2 separate regions of the Homo sapiens genome follow, and region 1 is linked to region 2. Evidence: promoter capture Hi-C in human tissues and cell types (Jung and others, 2019). All regions are on one chromosome and are shown on one strand. Each heading gives the region's core, a stretch centred on a gene start or on the middle of the fragment in contact. The rest is flanking DNA. Distances are from core to core; before and after follow the strand shown. Region 1 overlaps RTN1 (reticulon 1). Region 2 holds the start of LRRC9 (leucine rich repeat containing 9).

Region 1 (3,220 bases), core at 163-2,662, 200 kb before region 2:
TCCCAACTACTCAGTAGGCTGAAGCAGGAGAATTGCTTGAACCTGGGAGTGGAGGTTTCGGTGAGCTGAGATCGCGCCACTGCACTCCAGCCTGAGTGACAGAGTAAGACCCTATCTCAAAAAAAAAAAAAAAAATACTCTAAGGTGGAAAATCGATGTCTCCATCTAAGTATTTCCATGGCATAGCACATACCAACACAGGAGTCACACTTTATCCAGCAGTTACTGGTCCATCTTGTTGAAAGCTGACAAAGAACAGCAGCTTCAGTGGAGGGGCATAGAGCTCAAGTGGAATCTAACACCTGTATTGTGAAAGAAAGAGACTTTCCAAGAATCTTTATAGCCCGGTATATTAATACAGTCTCATGAAAGTGAACACATACAGGACTAGGGTATAATGACTTTTTTTTTTTAGAATTATGAGAAGAAAGTAAATGGGTCATACTTATTTTGGTTCCCTCCCAAATATTTTAGGACAGAAGTAATATCTAGTATAATAATGAAAAGTGATAACAAACATCATAAATGCTAGACAGATGAAAATCTATTCTATTTGAGAAGACCTCCACCTGGTAGCCATCCCACAAATCACCCCTCCAAGGAAAAGACAGGTTTTCCCCTGCCACAAGGGGCTGAGCCCTCCAGCCTCAAGCTGCTGTAGCTGCTATACACAGAGGAGGCCATGGGTGAGCAGGCTGCAGAGGCCTGCCTCCCAGGGCACAGACAGGTACCTCTCTAACAGAAAGAGATAGAAACAGCTGAGTCCCCCTCAGCATCTTTAATTTAAAAGCATGATATGTCTAAGTCATGCTCACCAACAAGTTTTCTTAGAAGGTCTGGGCTGCTTAGCTCATCTGTTTACAATAGAAATTCTCAAGCTTCAGTGTGATTATTAAAAGTGCAGATGTATGCCCCAGCCAGTTCTCATTCTGTAGTTTCGAGGTGGGGGTAGATTGAGAATCTGAATTCTGAACAAGCACTCCAAAAGGTGCTGAGGTACCTGGTCCCCAAGCAACACTTAAGTCCTTGCTAGCTTAAAGAAATATTTCTCAATCTGGGTCACTGGTTGTGTACTTTAGGGTTCCAAAAAGAGAATTTCATTTTTGTATTTTTATTTTGATATTAATTTTTCAAATAGTAAGAACACTCTGGATCACCTGGGTGATAATTTTATAACCAAACACTACTGCAAGACTTCTACTGAAGTATTTACAGTCAGGTCGGCACCGAGTACCTTTAACTTTGTCTCAGGCTAATGAGTCTTTACTTGGATCCAGACTTAGTTCTTCTAAATGATTTTGTTGCTCTCCAATGGATGGATGGATGAAAATTCATTTTACTCAACTCCCTGTTGGTGTTTTTTCCAACTTTTTCATTACTATGAAAAACGAGATAAGAAAGATATTCATATGTATCTTTCTAACTCTATTTACACATGTGTATAATTTATATATTTTTGCCCACCTGCTATAGCATTTCTATGGGATAAATTCCTAACAGTATTCAAAAAGTATGAGAACTTAGAACTGTAAGAGGGTTAGAGTCCTGGAGGTTGAGTGTTCACACTCAATGACATCACTTCATTTGCTCAGGAAGGGAACAGAGGAAGGAAAAGAGCAAATTTTGATAAATTAACATGGACATACGGAATTTGGGAGGTCTATGGGATGTCCAATACACAGTGAGGGAAATCGGCTTGGAGTTTAGAAAAGAGGATTTCTTCAAAGCAAGAGATTTGAGAAGTGTCACACATAAAGCAGTGCCTGAAAACCTGCATGGGTGACAGCAGCTTTGACAGCAAGGATAGGCAGGAGGAAGAAAGACAAGGATAGAACTCAGGGACAACACAGAGGAACTGGAAGGGTGGTAGCAAAAGAGACTGGAAAAGAGGTCAGAGAGTAAGAGGAGAACCAAGAAAGAGAAACATCAGTACGATAAGGGAGGAAAAAGTTCTGAGAAGGAGTGAACGATTTCCATGAGAGCTGATATTGTCCCTAATTTTATTGTTAAATGACATAAGTTACAAAACAGTATGTTCAATATAATGTTACTTTTTCAGTGAAAAACTATATATTCCTGAATACTTAAAGAAATTCTTGAAGAACAAGAACAACAATAAAAAAAAAACAATACAAAGGCCTGTAGTGACGTGTGAGAATTAGGGATGGGAGGGTTGAGTAGGGAACTTTTAACTTTTTTTTTTTTTTTTTGAGACAAGGTGTCTTTCTTTGTTGCACAGGCTGGAGTGCAGTGGTGTGATCAAAGCTCACTGCAGGCCCGACCTCCTGGGCTCAAGTGATCCTCCCACATCAGCCACCTGAGTAGCTGGGACTACAGGCATGCACCACCACACCCAACTAATTTTTGTATTTTTTGTAGAGATGGAGTTTCATCATGTTGCGTAGTCTGGTCTTGAACTCCTGGGCTCAAGTGATTCACCAGCCTTGGCCTCCCAAAGTGCTGGGGCTACAGGTGTGGGCCACCATGCCCAGACTCTTTAACTTTGAATTCTGTGCCATTTTGTACAGTTTGAATTTATTACAACAAATATACATTACTTTATTATTAACGTTTTAAGGACTGATCAGCAGTATGATATTAGATTACCAGAGAGGACAAGAAAGATGAGATTGAAAAGAGGCCATTTGTTTGGCAAGAAGACAGTCAGTTTCAAGTAGGAATATGAAAGCATACTGCCATCGTCTAAAACCCTGCTACCCTGGCCGAGTGCGGTGGCTCACGCCTGTAATCCCAGCACTTTGGGAGGCCAAGGTGGGTGGATCACAAGGTCAGGAGATCAAGACCATCCTGGCTAACATGGTGAAACCCCATCTCCACTAAAAAAAAAAAAATACAAAAAATTAGCCGGGCGTGGTGGTGGTGGGCGCCTGTAGTCCCAGCTACTCGGGAGGCTGAGACAGTAGAATGGCGTGAACCTGGGAGGCGGAGCTTGCAGTGAGCAGAGATGCTCCACTGCACTCCAGCCTGGGCAACAGAGCGAGACTCCGTCTCAAAATAAATAAATAAATAAAAATAAATTAAAAAAAATAAAACTCTGCTTCCCAAGCTTTAAAGTGTATAAGAATCACATATGCACTTATGCACAGGGGATCTTGATTCAGTACGTCTTGGAAGCAGCCTGAGATTCCCCATTTCTAACAACCTCCCACATAATATCAACATGGCTGGTCCAAGCCACACACTTTTGAGTTGCATGATA
Region 2 (3,329 bases), core at 551-3,050:
CCTAGTCTTTCACTGGTCAGGAAAATCCCAATAGATTCCTAAAAATATACTTTGATAATGTTTATACTTTCATCCCAGAGCTGGACCCCTCAAATTAAGAAACTTAGTGTAGATAATTCGCTGAACTGGTTTCTGTTCAAATTTCTATGTCTAGAAGTGTAGAAATCTCAACTATTATGTTCTAATTCATCTTTATACTCTATGAAGAAAACTTCCCCAAAGACAGGTCACCTTGTTCAACTACATTTCAGAGAAGATAATAGTAAAAGTAAAAACTATGAATCTGACTTTTCTGGCATTAGTTTGAAACCCCTAAGCCACAAATAACTTTAATTAGCTTATTTCGAATTATCTATTAATGACAGATAGAAACAATTTTCTGTGAAATAAGAATGTAGAGGGAAAACCAGTTAATTTTTGTTTATGTATCTTTACAAACGGTCTATATTACAGATAAAGTTAATTGAATAAAGGCAAATATGCTGAAATTGTTGACAATTGTTAAATGAGAATATTCCTAAAATCTGAACTTTTTCTTGGGAAAGCAGTTCAAAACTATAGTCTATTTAATGAGGTGGCCATCTGGTGACAGAAAGAAGCACTACAGACAATATTTTGCATTAACATCACAACTATTCTACACAAACCGACTGAACCACATAAAAGAGAGCACAGTCCAAAAGAAACATAATTCAAGTCATACATGCAATTTAAAATTTATCTAACAGCCGCATTTTCAAAATAGAAACAATAATTTTAACAATATTTTTTATTTAACCCAATGTATCAAAAATATTATTTCAACATTTAATCAATATGAAGATTAATAACGAAAGAGTTTATTTTTTTCATACTAAGCCTTCAAAATACAATGCGTACCTTACAGCACATGTCAATTTGGACAAGCCACATTTCAAGCGATCATGGGCCCTGCGAGTCTGTGGGTAGCGGCTCACCCTGCTGGACTGCGCAGATCCAGAGAACGACACGAGACCTGCGGTTGCTTTGGTTTGCCTTTTACTAAGTTCATTTCTCAGCCTCTCTGCCCACTCTGAAAAGTCTCCCCTTTCCCCCCTTTTAATTCTACTCTATTTTGTAAATTACTGTTGTCTCCTGAAAATTTTGGAATGCTTAAAAGGCACTCAAAAGCCTGTCCGAGATCGACTAGAAGACCCTCGGAAGGTCCCTCTCTTCTCTGGACCTCACTGGGCGTTCGTTTGCCCGCGCCGTCCTTCCATTCGGCTTGCCGGGCGCGCAGCGGCTTGCGGCTGTGGTCAGCCACCTTCCCGGGAGGCGGTGGTCGCTGGCCGCGGGAAGGATGCCGCGCTGGGGGTCGGGGTTCGTCCCGGCTGTCACGCCACCTTGTGACATCACAGGGCCATGCCCTCGGGGCTCAAGGCCAGAGAGGCTCCGCGCTTCCAGGACCCGAGAGCTAAAGATAATGAATGGGAGAGAGCGAGACTGGAGGAGGTAACGAATAAGTCCCCACCACCTTGCCCATAACGCGTTGCTTTCAGTCACGTTCCGCGAACTGGCGAAGGTAAGTGAAAAGATAAGCGCAGGTACAGAAAAACCTGCCAGCGAGAAGCTCCCGCCGTTTCCCAGGAGCCCCAGGTGGGGTCTTCCGGTTGGACCCCTGCTTCCGCTGATTGGTTGGAGGTCGCCACCACGTGATGCAAACCCGGGTCGGCCTCCGCTTCCCCCCCACCCTTTTATCCCCCTCCCCGCCCCTTTTCTCCTCCTCCCCACCCGGAGGTCGCCGGAGGCGGAGATCAGGTTACCTAGGCAACCGCCACAGGCAGTCTGTACACACCAGGCCTGGGGCGGGAGAGGGTTTCCTACCTTCTGCTGCAAGACAGGGATTGGGAAATCGGAGTGGACTCGGACTTGAATCGGATTGCCCCGGAATCCACCCTCTCTCTGTGATAAGGTCAGAATCCGTCACCTGGTGGCCTTCGGGCGTACATCACCGGGAGTCTTTGATCCCCTCTTTTTCCTTCCAAGCCATACCAAGGGGAAGACGCCAGTGAAGCAAAGTTGAGGTCAAGGGAACTCCGTAATGGTGCAATGGTGATGATAATGATGAAAGACAGTGAGGTGGCTTTACTGAGGCAGTCAGGGTACCAGAACAAAGTTCAAGAGAAGGAAAGGGAGGGTGGCCTACAGCCAACTATGCAGATTTTACTGCACCAATTAAGATTCTGGGCTGGAAAAACCAAGTGCTCCCTAACCAAACCTGACACTGCTCATCTAGAGAGTGTAGGGGGTTTATTTGGACCATCAGTGGTAACTGATGGATTCTGATCCTTTTATACCCAAAGGAGGAAATAATTTGACCCATACAGGACTTCTACTGGGCAGAGAAAAAAAAAGTTTTCTCAGAATGACATCCTAACCAACTCTCACGGCAGACAGAAACCATGGTCCTTTTTACTCTATCATTATACTCTGGTCATGGAGAACGATTATGTCTTTAAATTATACCATATGCCTGTGGCATGACAATTAACCCATTAAACAATTTTTTTAACAACTAGCATGTGCCAGACAGTGAACCTGTGATAGGTTCACAGTTTCTGCCTTCAATGAACATGTAACCTAGTAGGGAAGAAAGGCCCGTAAACATTGTTTTACAGTGTGACAAGTGCTATACAAAGAGTATGTGCAAGCCCTAACCAGAATCACAAGAAAGAGAATGCTTATAATACTACCAGAGAGAATGAAAGTCTTCAAAGAGAAGATCTTTGATTTAAATCTTTAGGGAAGTATGGAGTATGCCATACAGCCAAGGGAAAAGGACATTTTAGGGAGAGGAAACAGCCCATGCCAAAGTACAGAAACATCCATTCAGTTCCAGAGAACTATAGTTGTGGCCTGAACCTAGGGTCCTCTGTGGAGGTTGTGGCTGATGAGCATGTGAGGTAGGCAGGAGTCAGAGCATGGAAACCATTAATACCTTCCAAAGGGGTAAAGCATGAGCAGATTTACCTTTCAGGAGGCTGTCACAGTAGTGTAGAGGATGAACTTGAGGGAAGACAGACTACAGGGAGGACATCAAGTTAAGGGGAGGTGATGAGGGCCTGAACCAAGGCAGAGGCAATTGGAATGAGGAGGAGGAAAAAAAATGTGGTAAGACCTTTAAGAGGTATATGCAGAAGGATTTAATGAGTGAATGAAAATAGGGGGATAGAGTCAAAGATTGGTTGAGGATAATAGCTCAACCAATAGAAGAATGGTGGTGTTACTTTTCAAGAGAAGGCATACATTAGGAGAAGGAGGCTGGTTGGAAAATATAATGAGTTCAATTTTGAACACACTGAATTTGAGAT

What was found. Contacts are between HindIII fragments. The study calls those that stand out against the background at their distance.
Region 1: a contact is called between a fragment that was not itself captured here and the fragment with the promoter of LRRC9 in region 2, in 1 of the 25 tissues and cell types used here (dorsolateral prefrontal cortex).

What each region holds. Positions count from the first base shown.
Region 1 is chr14:59,720,604-59,723,823 of GRCh38, forward strand. All of the region lies in intron 3 of RTN1 (reticulon 1), which reads right to left. Among named protein-coding and RNA genes, the nearest start is that of MIR5586, 75 kb to the left of the region's middle. The HindIII fragment of the contact is 4,104 bases long and covers 1-3,220 here.
Region 2 is chr14:59,918,344-59,921,672 of GRCh38, forward strand. LRRC9 (leucine rich repeat containing 9) reads left to right here and starts at 1,801. Exons shown (of 33, transcript NM_001395648.1): 1 at 1,801-1,930. RefSeq lists an enhancer at 961-2,160. The HindIII fragment of the contact is 18,773 bases long and covers 1-3,329 here.